4 separate regions of the Homo sapiens genome follow, and all the other regions are linked to region 2. The links are contacts of gene promoters, found by promoter capture Hi-C in human tissues and cell types (Jung and others, 2019). All regions are on one chromosome and are shown on one strand. Each heading gives the region's core, a stretch centred on a gene start or on the middle of the fragment in contact. The rest is flanking DNA. Distances are from core to core; before and after follow the strand shown. Region 1 has its middle 7.6 kb from the start of GSTM5. Region 2 holds the start of AHCYL1 (adenosylhomocysteinase like 1). Region 3 has its middle 12 kb from the start of GSTM5. Region 4 holds the start of GSTM1 (glutathione S-transferase mu 1).

The links. Contacts are between HindIII fragments. The study calls those that stand out against the background at their distance.
Region 1: a contact is called between a fragment that was not itself captured here and the fragment with the promoter of AHCYL1 in region 2, in 1 of the 25 tissues and cell types used here (heart right ventricle).
Region 3: a fragment that was not itself captured here is called in contact with the fragment with the promoter of AHCYL1 in region 2 in 1 of the 25 tissues and cell types used here (lymphoblastoid cells).
Region 4: the fragment with the promoter of GSTM1 here is called in contact with the fragment with the promoter of AHCYL1 in region 2 in 1 of the 25 tissues and cell types used here (mesenchymal stem cells).

What each region holds. Positions count from the first base shown.
Region 1 is chr1:109,703,216-109,706,046 of GRCh38, reverse strand. No RefSeq gene overlaps it. Among named protein-coding and RNA genes, the nearest start is that of GSTM5, 7.6 kb to the left of the region's middle. The HindIII fragment of the contact is 8,634 bases long and covers 1-2,831 here.
Region 2 is chr1:109,983,465-109,986,282 of GRCh38, reverse strand. It overlaps AHCYL1 (adenosylhomocysteinase like 1), which reads right to left and starts at 1,518. Exons shown (of 17, transcript NM_006621.7): 1 at 1,111-1,518. The coding sequence starts at 1,230. RefSeq lists silencers at 973-1,042, 1,223-1,292. The HindIII fragment of the contact is 16,487 bases long and covers 1-2,818 here.
Region 3 is chr1:109,722,694-109,725,873 of GRCh38, reverse strand. No RefSeq gene overlaps it. Among named protein-coding and RNA genes, the nearest start is that of GSTM5, 12 kb to the right of the region's middle. The HindIII fragment of the contact is 5,225 bases long and covers 1-3,180 here.
Region 4 is chr1:109,686,273-109,689,231 of GRCh38, reverse strand. It overlaps GSTM1 (glutathione S-transferase mu 1), which reads right to left and starts at 1,415. Exons shown (of 8, transcript NM_000561.4): 1 at 1,323-1,415; 2 at 987-1,062; 3 at 495-559; 4 at 103-184; 5 at 1-7. The coding sequence starts at 1,358. RefSeq lists an enhancer at 1,316-1,365. The HindIII fragment of the contact is 14,943 bases long and covers 1-2,959 here.

The DNA.
Region 1 (2,831 bases), core at 193-2,692, 280 kb after region 2:
CACCAGGCCCACCAAACCTTGAGGTAAAGGGCCAGTGGCCCCCGTGGGGACAATTAAAGGCAAAGAATTCGGTAGTAAATTTAGAGGAGTGGTACTACAGAGATTGACCGCCCTGCCCCCTACTGTGGAGGTAGACAAGCATTGTACTGAGACAGAAGAAGCGACTGGGACCCATCTGGGTTGGCTGTAGGTAAATTTGCTTGTGCTGGGGGCTGTATTGGGACCGCTTGAAGCAGAAACACAATATTGGTCTGAGTCTGAGGTGTCCCATTTGATACTGGGGCCTGGGACTGGCCCTGCTTCCCATTTCCCTGGTTCTGTGGCAAGGGATTGCCATCTATATCAGACTTAGAGTGGCAAGTACTTGCCCAGTGTTTACCTTTACGACAATGAGGGCAAACAGTAGCAGGAGCATTTGGCCATGTTTGTTGAGCTGGCTTGGCCGCTTTTAACAGTGCAATTTTTTTGGGTATGATGAAGTTGACCACAATTATAGCAGGCTCCAAGAAAAGAATTCAGTCAAGCCAGTTTGATTGCCATCCTTCATGGCCCGTGCCCACAGAATAGCTTTGTGGGTCTCTGATCCAATGCTTTCACAAGCTTTAATATATGCAGGCACACCTCGTGATCAGGTAAATTTTGTCATTAGACAGAACGCATGACCACTTTACACTCATGGTTCGCATTCTCAAAAGCTAACATATGAAGGAGAATACCTTGAGCGTAATCATCAGAGACAGATTTTGAACAGCATCTTGTAATTTAGCCAAAAAATCAGGATGTAATTCACTGCGACCCTGTTTAACAGTAGTAAAAGAAACAGGAGCTTGGCCTGGGGCACCTAGTTTATCCCAAACTCTCATACACAACTTTGTTACTTGTTCCGTGGTGAGAGCGTCAAAGTCTAATTGGGCGGTAGTGTCAGAGTGATTATCAGAGCCTGTGAGCTGAGCCTGAGTAATTAGAATGCCATCAACCCAATTTAGCTGAGCCTGCAGACGGGCCTCCTCTGACCACCAGGTACAGAATTGTAAATGCTGAGATGGAGTTAGAACAGCTTTCGCCAAAAGGTCCCATTCTGAAGGAAGCAAAATGACCTCAGTACAAAGAGTCTGTAATGCCATTTTAACATATGGAGAAGCAGGACCATACTGAGCACAAGCATCCTTGAATTCTTTTGAAAAGGTAAGATTGAGCAGTGCATATCAACGCATTTGTACCCCTTGAGCATTGGGAGGTTCCAGCGTGACCGGATAAGCCCACACCTCTAATCCACTTGTTTCTTTGTTCTGGCGTAATAAGCATTGCATGGAAGTTTCAAGAGCAGGCACATGAGATGGAGTTGGCATAGAAGTGACAGTAAAAGTATGTGTAGATAAGGGAAACTGAGGTTCAGGAGGTCAGACCAGTATGAGAGTGTGAGAAAGGGGCATTGGGGGAGCAGAAGAGACAGAAGCATACTGGTGATTATTGGGAAATCCTGTGCAACCAGAGTGGCAGGGGCGTCCATGTGTGAAGAAGGGTACAGAGAAGCAGGTTGAGTGAATGGCAAAGTGACTGGTTGAGGGACCGAAATGACAGGAGGGTGAGGGGCTGCGGTGGGGGAGGGCCTGCAGAATTACAGGTAAATTGTAGTTTGGTCTGGAGCCATTAGATGGCTCTGGAGGCAAAGCCTGCAAAGATTTGAAAAGGGAAGAGTTAGCATAGATATGGTGCAGAGCTGTCCGAGTCAGGGCCATGGGAGCTACAAGTATCAGGTCTTCATGAAAAGAAATAAGACCATCGGGGGTGACATTAAGCCAAAGTCACCGGAGTTAGATATTGAATCCTCAATATCGTTAGGTGGGGGAGGAGTAGGCGAAGGGAGAGGCTGAGCAGATAATGAAGCCCGAGTGGGAGAGGAAAGCTGTGGAAGAGGTAGAAGGTCGCCAGATTCAGAAAACTGTGGTAACTGCAGGGGGTCACGGGATTGGTATGTCGTTAGGATGGCACATACCAAGGCCCAATCACCCCAAACAGTGAAGGGAACATAATTTCCTGATGGGATCAGTTCCTGGAATTTTGCACCAACGCGATCCCATAGTTCCACATCTAATTTTCCCTTTTCAGGAAACCAAGGACAGTGTTCTTCCAACACCCTGAATAGGGTGACCATATTTTCCATGGGCACCCAAACTCCACCCTGTTTTAACAGGAGTTTAATATAGCAGAGATAAGCATAATATTTAGACTCCATGTGACCCATAGTTACCCGAGACAATACATAGAAAATTCACCAATCATCAGGGAGCCGAACAAGCGTTTCTGAGGACTGGACTGATGATCGTTTCTCCACACCTACCAAAGGGAATCAGGTTCCCACATGCACTTAGGAAAAAGAAAACCATGTTGGTGCACCAGATATTGGGGGAACCTGCCCCCAGTATTTCAATGTAGGTTCTTTCTACTTTCCATAAGTGTCGGCTGGCTGAGAAATAAAGAGAAAGAGTACAAAGAGAGGAATTTTACAGCTGGGCTGCTGGAGGTGACATCACATATCAGTGGGACCGTAATGCCCGCCCGAGCCTCAAAACCAGCAAGTTTTTATTAAGGATTGCAAAAGGGGAGGGGGTGTACGAACAGGGGGTAGGTACGAAGATCACATGCTTTAAAGGGCAAAAAGCAGAACAAAGATCACATGCTTCTGAGGAAACAGGACAAGGGCAAAATAGAACTCCTGATAAGGGTCTATGTTCAGCGGTGCATGTATTGTCTTGATAAACATCTTAAACAACAGAACACAGGGTTCAAGAGCAGAGAACCAGTCTGACCACAAATTTGCCAGGGCCAGG
Region 2 (2,818 bases), core at 269-2,768:
TCAAGGACTTAACTATTCCTGCAGCCCTTGCTTTGTTCAGCCCTGCATCCCATTAAACACTGGATGCAGGCAGAGACAGCTTTGTAAGACTCTGTCTTTATAAAGAAGGGAGACATTTATCTGGGTTCTCACTGGCTTCAGGAAGGTCACCTCTTTGTAAAGGTTCTCTGGTCTACTGCTAACTGGGTGCCAGGTGTATGGAAAATCAAGATGTGGTTGGCAGTAAATGATGAGAAAGCAATAAGGATCCCAATTCCACCACTCGGAGAGCTAGTCAGACTAAAATCTCCAAAGGTTGCCATTTATGAGAGAATTCGAAGGGTGTCCTTTGAGTCAACCTACAGCACAATAGATCAAACTTGTTCTGCCTCAAAAGTACAGTCAAGAGTGAGCAATCTTCCCTTACCACCCACTACTCCAACCCACCCAAGCTCCTTTCTCCAGGGATGCCTAAGTGATCTATTCACATGACTCTAGGATCCACCTGTATCCATGACAGTGTCTGCTGTCACCAACCTCCAAATGTCAATTTCTTACATATTTCGAAGTAATTGGAATGCTGTAGAAAGTGAAAATCATAGATTTTCAGTTTCATGTTACCCTCATCGCTTTCACCTGTATATCAGAGCTAGCTTCACGCATTCTTTTCTCTTGCCTCCCAGCTATCACGCAGTTGTTGGATAAAGCGGCCACTGCTCCCAAAGATTTGATGGAAGTTCTGCCAGATTTACCCACTCACCTGAAGGGAGATTTTCTGTACACCCCATGCCCCCGGACTGGTCACAAGGGTCAGCTGAGTTGGTTCACCCCCTCCCACTCTCGTCTTCGAGGCCCTTCATCCAGGAAAAGTCAGTCGCAAATTTAAGGCCTGGCCCTGTCGGGTTTCAAAACGATCCCGGAGGACTTGGGCCGAGGGACAAAGGAAAGCGAGGTCAGAGGCGGCCTTTCAGCCCGGGAGAGGCCTGGGGCCGCACAGCCGCCACCCCCTACATCACCTCCGCCGTCCCCAGTCACCCCCAGAAGTCCCAAACTAGCCAGAGCCCGGGCTTGCTCGCGTCCCTTCCGCGAGGCCGGAGCCCGAGCCCCCGCCGCCACCCAGAGCCCCCGCACCTTCTTGGGCGCCTTGGTGACGGTGGCCATGAAGGAGTACTTCTCGGCGTCCTCGATCTCCTTGGCCTGCTTCAGCTCCTCCCCGACCCCGGGCAGCGGCATCGCGTCAGGCATCGACATTCCCCGGCCGGCCCGGCCAGCGGCTGACCCGCCGCCCCCGCCTCTTTCCCCCTCTGGCGCCCGCCCGCCTGCCCGCGCGGCGCCCTCCGACACGCGATCGCCCACCCTCCTGCCGGCCCCTGCGTCGAGCTGCGTCGGCTTCTGAGGTGCTGTGGCCCACGCCTTGTCTGTTCGGCAGCCCAAGGCAGCCGGACAGCGACGGCGGCCACAAGAGAACCAGAACAGCAGCTCCGAGCTCCGACCTGCCCGCGCCGCCACCTCCGCTGTACGCAAACACGCACGCAAAGCGAGGGTAGAGGGCGGTGACGCCACGTCAAGTACTGGCAGCTCCCGGGAGGGGGAAGAGGCGGGGAGAAAGGGCACTCTGTCGTGACGTCACCACGCTGGGCTGGGCCACAGAAGCCGTTCCTCTCCCGCTCGAGAGCGAAGTTCCCAGGGTGAGCAGGACCCTTTGTGCCACCAGGTGGCACCATCAGCCCTGGGAGCAGCGCGAGGTTCATGCAACGATGCTGCGGAACGGAGGGTCTTTGGGCTGCGGGGTTCCTGGCAAGGCCTCAGAGGCGCATGAAAGGGGTGTTTGGGAGCAAAGACCAGAGCCCCACACGACACATCCTACAGCGATTCCTAGGAAATGTCCGGGGCTCGAGACAGCCCACTCACTCACTGGCCCAGCCCCAGGCCCTTTGGATTAAAGCTCCTTCCCAAGGGGCCGTGCCTGTCTTTTTGACTTCATAGGGGGCAGAACTGACTCAGAGTAGTCTGGTTTCTGCACAACGCTTTGTGACTTCCTCCACCACCATCTCCGACTGGGCCTTGCCTGTTTACAAAACCCTCATTGGGATAGGGCTGATGGGTATGAGGGTGGAGACCAGGAGAGCTGATGGAGAAGTCCCCAGCCAGAATGGCCTTCCGGTCCTTGCTCCACCAAAGCATTAGACCCTTCCAGCTCTCAGTGGGCATCCAGGACATTCATGGACTGCTCACACCCTTTTACTGGGCCTACTATGTGCAGTGCCTGTGCTGAGGCCCTGCTGGCAAAAGGACATGTGACGCATTTTATGTTTTGCAAGGCTTAGTTCAGCTGGAGAGGCAAAACCTGCTTGTATCCTAATGTCAGCTGAGGTAGCTTGTCCTTTGAGATTCAAATGACATTGGCTCCAATTACCATGTCCTGTGGAAAGTCCATTACTGGGAGGACTTGGATTTTCATGGTCACCTCTGGCTCTAGTTTTTTTGCCTTGTCTGGCATTTTATTCACTATTCTGGTCTTGTGACTGTTTCTGTAGCTCCTGGGGTCAATTCAGCCGCTTCTCCTTTCAACCCCCACCCCATGCTAAACAACTACAAAATAAGGCTGTAACATGTAGTAAAACTTTTAATAAAGGTTTGTGGGTCACAGGGGAGAGATTACATCACACAGCAAACAATTTAAGAACACATTTCTGAAATGTTCTGAAAAGTTATTTTGGCTGTCTTACCACCCGGGGATTTCTCAATGGCCACAAGATCCCACCACGCTCCCTAGCCCATTGCCATCTAATCTAGCTTCCTCCTGTTCCTCCCTTCCCATCTCTGCACCTCATCCTTC
Region 3 (3,180 bases), core at 480-2,979, 260 kb after region 2:
GAAGAAGGGGGTCAGGGGACTCCTTGCTTCTAGTGAACAAGGGCCCTGAGCTTTTAGAGTCCTTCATATTTATTGAGTAAAGGAGATAGGGAGAAGGGGATGGTTGTGGTCAGCTGCTTGACTTAGTGCAGGTCTGCATGACTGCATTATTTGAACAGTAGGCTCCAGATGTCCCAGTAGATAACCTCAAGGAGCACGGCACCAGGGAGTGATTACTCTCAGCATACCTTCTGGCGGCAGGCACAGATGCAAGTTTGCTCACATTCTGTATTCATGATAAACAGTTTGCTGTTTGATCATATAGCCTTCAGTGGAATGCTGAGTGGGTCACAACCCTCAGGCTTTCGGTTCCCAACACAATAATAATCTGTTTTCATTTGTAACAGGACACAGTTGGAGAAACTGGTTATTTTACCAAAGCTTTAACTTGAATGGTATGCTTTCCTTTAAGGAATCAAACTTGATTTATGGAGCCAATAAAGCCACTTGGGAAACTGGACTCATAGTTTTGTCCACCTGTGGTAGGTAAAGAATGTCACTTTCTGACAGGCCCAGGAGCCCCAAGTTTACTTTGGAACCTCAAGGGGAGAGGATCACCCAACTCATAGGTATTTAATGGCACAAATCCATGGCTGAGCTCAGCTTTAAAACAGTCTTATCTGAGATTCCTCCTGTGAACCCAGAAAATGTGAGACAAGTTCCAGAAAATCCGAGACAGGTCTGTCTTTCTTTCTTTCTTTCTTCCTTTCTTTCCCCTTCCCTTCCCTTCCCTTCCCTTCCCCTCCCTTCCCTTCCCTTCCCTTCCCTTCCTTTCTTTCATTTTTAGAGGGAGTTTTGCTCTGTCGCCCAGACTGGAGTGCAATGGCACAATCTCCGCTCACTGTAATCTCCACCTCCCAGGTTCAAGCGATTCTCCTGCCTCGGCCTACCAAGCAAGTAGCTGGGATTACAGGCATCTGCCACCATGCCCAGCTAAGTTTTGTATTTTTAGTAGAGACGAGGTTTCGCCATGTTGGCCAGGCTAGTCTTGGACTCCTCATCTCGGGTGATCCGCCTGCCTCAGCCTTTCAAAGTGCTGGGATTACAGGCGTGAGCCACCGTGCCCAGCCAGGTCTCAGTTAATTTAGAAAGTTTGTTTTGCCAAGGTTGAGGATGAATACCGGTGGCACAGCCTCAGGATGTCCTGACAACATGTGCCGCAGGTGTTCAGGGCACAGCTTGATTTTATACATTTTAGACAGACATGAAACATCAATTAATATGTATAAAGAACTACATTGGTTTGGTCTGGAAAGGTGGGACAACTTGAAGCACCCACCTGCTTCGAGTTGTCCAGCCTTTCTGGATGGAACCAATGTGCTTTTTACATATATTGATAAGCCATAGCTTTTATATATATTTACAAACCAAGCTGTGCCCCGACCATCTTGGGGACATGTTGTCAAGGACTTTCTGAGACCGTGTCATGGCCACATCCTCCACCTTGGCAAAATAAACTTTCTGATTTAACTTGGACCTCTCCCAGATTTTCTGGGTTTACAAGTTCATGGTCTGGCTTATTTCTTCCTTGCTTAGGCCAAATTGAAATGAAACATTTCTGAAAACTAACAGGGATTGGCTCTTAATGTTCTTATGGGGTTTACAATGGAAATAATTACAGATAACTGACACGTGAGACTTAAATCTGGAAGAAAAGATTAAATGGGTGTGGGTATATTTGAATTTTAAATGAATAGGTGCTTCTGTGTGGCCTGACTTGGAGACAGCGGGCCAACCTAGTGTTCGCAGGAGATGTTTTCCATGATGCAAAATAATAGGAATAGAACACACCAGCTAATAATGTTCATGTTGTATTGGAAGTTTGAAGGAAAATTAGAATTATTAAATAGGCCTGTACTTTATCTTCTGTAGTACAACACTTTCAATTATATTAACAGATACTCTTTTTGAACTGTGACCAAGACCCTATCTGCTTCTTTCCAAAATTATGTTTCAGGCCGCACGCAGTGGCTTATGCATGTAATCCCAGCATTTTGGGAGGTGGAGGGAGGCAGAGGCAGGCAAATCACTTGAGCCCAGGAGTTCAAGACCAGCCTGGGCAACATGGCAAAACCCCATCTCTACAAAATACAGGAAAAAAAATTAGCCAGGCATGGTGGCATGTGCCTGTAGTCCCAGCAACCCAGGAGGCTGACGTGGAAGGATCACCTGAGCCCAAGGAAGTCAAGGCTGCAGTGAGCCATGATTGCACTACTGCACTCCAGCTTGGGCGACAGAGCAAGACCTTGTCTAAAAAAAAAAAAAAAAATTATGTTTCAACTGGAAGAGAACTAAAGGTATGCAGGGAATGTAGGGTGTCTGTTGGGCCTTTTGGACAGAATATGCTTTGAGAGGATTTGTTGGGGCTATTCCAAAAGGCGGAGTCCTCTGTGGAAAACCAGATCTGTTTACAAGGAGTATGACAATTAACATTTGCAGAGAGAGTTGGTCCGGAACCCATCAGAATGGACCACTCTCGCTCACTGCTTCCAAGTCTCAGGTTACCATGTGGTAGTGGCCAGTCTGTCTCTGTGTCTCTGTCATCAGTAAGAGTTTCCCTCACCATTCCACACAAGCCACATGAGCCTAAAAAATGTAGGGTAACAAAGTGGGATGACAGTAAACCTGAGTGGGGTCACAGAGGGATGGAGACAAGAGCCAATCCAAGGAGTGACTTTGGGTTGTTCATATCAATGCTTAGTATATAAGTCTTATTACGCAATATCTCTTCAGAGTCCCTTCACCAAAGAAGTGCATTCTATAAGCATTGTAAATAAATGCAAAACAGCTTATTTGCAAATCTGAGTGCAGCCTGTTTTCTACTGTATCATATAGGCTTACCTAATTTTTCCCTTTTTTCCACTTCCCATTTCATTTGTTATTTTATAGAGGGTGAATTGGGGTTTGTTTTTACTCTTTCTTTCGTCCTTTATTATTATTTTTTTTTTTCAGAGATGAGGTCTCACTATGTTGCCCAGGCTAGAGTGCACTGATTATACACAGGTGCAATCATAGCTCACTGCAAACTTCTGTCCTCAAGCGATCCTCCCACCTTAACCTCTAGGATAGTTAGGACTGCAGGCCTGTACCACCACACCCTGCCCAAATTGGGGGTTATTAACTTTACACTTTAGTCTCTCG
Region 4 (2,959 bases), core at 166-2,665, 300 kb after region 2:
TCCCCACCTGCCACCCACAAAACACAGACTCAATCTCAGCATCACAGCCCAGCCAAGGAGGAGGCCACCTTCCCCCCACACATTGCAGCCACCCACACTCACACAGGTTGTGCTTGCGGGCAATGTAGCACAAGATGGCGTTGCTCTGGGTGATCTTGTGAGCCCCATCAATCAAGTAGGGCAGCTGGATGGATGGGAAACCGGCGAAGCTCAGTTGGGCCACCAGGCTCCCCAGCATCCCCTTCCCATAAGCAAGAGCAGAGAGGAGACCGGGCACTCACTGTGCCTGCTCATGGCAGGACTGAAATAAGAATACTGTCACATGAACGAATGCAGGTGGACACAGAACATCATGGAAGGACTGTTTAGACAGCCAGGAGTGAGAGGAATTGGGCAGAAGACTCCTGATCTTAACACCTCTAAGCTGGGGAGAGGAGATGCAGTCAGAGACACGTTGCACTTTCCCCCAAAACCGCCCCTTCCCCTGCACCTACATTGGGAAAGTCCAGGCCCAGCTTGAATTTTTCATTCAGCCACTGGCTTCTGTCATAATCAGGAGCTGTGGTGGGGAAGAAGAAGTGAAAACAAACCTCCCCAGAGCCCAGCCCTCCTTCCCGGGGACCCTCCCACGGAGCCAGTGGCAAGATCCCTGAGACAGGTGGATCTAGAATCTGACCACTCAGTCCCACATCCCAGGGTTCAGGGACAAAGAATCCCGCTGAGGGCTCTGGACCCCACACAGCTAAGGCTTCCAGGGTTTAGGCAAGCCCTGAGGGACACCCGTCCCAATTAGACAGGGGGCCCAGCATCCCACCCCAGCATTCTGCCTTGCAAGGCCAGAGGGCTCCCTCACCGGGGCTCAGGGAAGAGACAGCCTGCAGCTCCAGCAGGGGAGGCCTGCAGAGGCAGCCACAGGTGGCCACCATGGGTTGCTTGGTGCCAACTTAGCGTGAGTGGGCAGAGCCCGAACACGAGGGTGCCATTACCGTCCCCCATCGTGTACTTCTTTTCCTCATAGCTTGAGTCTGTGTATTCCAGGAGCAGGCGGATGGCGTGGGCCAGCTGGGAGAGATGGCCCGCAGGTCGCGTCAGAGATGGAGGGTCCCTGACTTTGTCTGCACCAGGGAAGCCCCCAGTTTACACTGCACGTACCCGTTGCCTCCTCTACCCGCCCACACCCCCAACACACACACAGCGGCATGCACAGGCCCTTCTGAGGCGGGCAGCCCTGAAGAGGAACGGTCCCTAGAGTCCGTCCCGCAGCTGCTTCGCACTTCCCTCCCCTGCGCCCTCGTCCCACCGTCCAGCGGACCCTCGCTCACCCCGCGGATGTCCCAGTACCCCAGTATCATGGGCATGGTGCTGGTTGGTGCGGATTCCGCAGACAGGCCTAAACCGAGCAGGGCTCAGAGTATAAGAGCTCCGGAGAGGGGACAGGCGGGGCCTTGCTGCGACCCCGCCCCTCGGCCCGCCACAACCCGAAAGGCGCCATTCTGGAGGCCCGGGAGAGGGCGCCTGGGGCTGCACTCAGTAAGACTTCCTCCCGCCTCCCAGGCCCGAGGGTTCCGGGAGCGAAGTCAGGGCGCCCAGAAGCCCAAGGCGGGGCTCGGCCTCGCCAGCTTCCCTACCCAGCCCTGAGGCTCCACGAGTCCATCCAGCCCTTGCTAGGTCCACAGCGACTTGGCTGTGCGCTTGAGACACCAGCCAGATCCTAACGGAGCAAAGCTCTTCTCCCTTCTCCTCCCTGCCCGCGGTGTCCCTCAGCCTTCTCTCCGCTGCCGAGTTCCCAAGGGCTCTGGGAGACTCCGGCTGCAGGGGTCAGACTAAAAAGTGGTGGCCCCAACCTGGGAATTTAATTCAGCCCCTGTCACTGTAAGAGCAGGACTTCCTCTGATCCGAAAGCTACTCCCAGGGCTTAGTCTCCCCTCTAGCCCCGCCTACACAGGAACAGTGTCAGTGGTATAGGAAGGACCCCCAGGAAAAGGGCCAGAGTAAAGGAAATGTGGTCTGTGTTTTCTGTTAGGGGCCCTCGGGTACTGAGTCCTTCGGTCATCTGGCTAAGTACTGTGTAAATTAGCCACTTCGTATTTTGGCACAATTTATGAATCGAAATCCAAGGATCAGATCCAGCAAGTTGGTGAGGTATCTGAGGTGCCCCCTAGAAATGTCCAGCCAGTCCACTAGGTGAACCTCACAGAGACCGGAACAGCAACAGCAACAGTGAGTGCAGTGGCCACAGAGAGCAGGCGAGGGAGGATGGAAGAACTTCCCGGACCAAACTGAGGGTCCGGCTGCTATTTCTCTAGGCCCAATAACGAGATGCAGATCAAATGGGGAGGAAGAGAGGTTTTATTTCTGCAACCGGTAACAGGGAGAAGGCCTAGAAATTACCACCAGACCAACTCAATATTACAAAGTTTTCCAGAGCATATATACCTTCTAAGGTATATGTCTACAAGTAAGTGTGCATTCATCTAAAGACATAAGTGATTAACTTCTTTAATCTGTAACTGAGGTCTGGGTCCTGAGGACCTTATTCTGGAGCCTCAGTCTATTTATTTAATCTAAATGGGTCCAGGTGCGGGGGATGATTACCCTTATCTTGTCTCCTGCTAAATCACGGAGGTTTGGGGAGTTCCTTCAGACGCCCAATAAACTTGTTTGTGGAGGCCTGGGGAGTTTCTTCAGACTCACAATAAAACTTGTTTAATTCTAAATAGGTCCTGTTAAGAATTCCTTCATTGTTTTGTCATGCTTTAAGGCCCAGGAAAGGCCTAAGCAAAACTCTTGGTGGGCTTTTGTTACATCCAGCCTCTGTATAAAGGTACTGGCTTTTTTCAGCTTTTAATATTTAACTTCACCACTCAGTCAGTACTGAAACAGTTGTTATGGAGGCCTGTGTTAGTGACGCCTGGCCTGCCACAGAACCTGTCCCTCAGAGAAGCCAGAACCCTGTCCT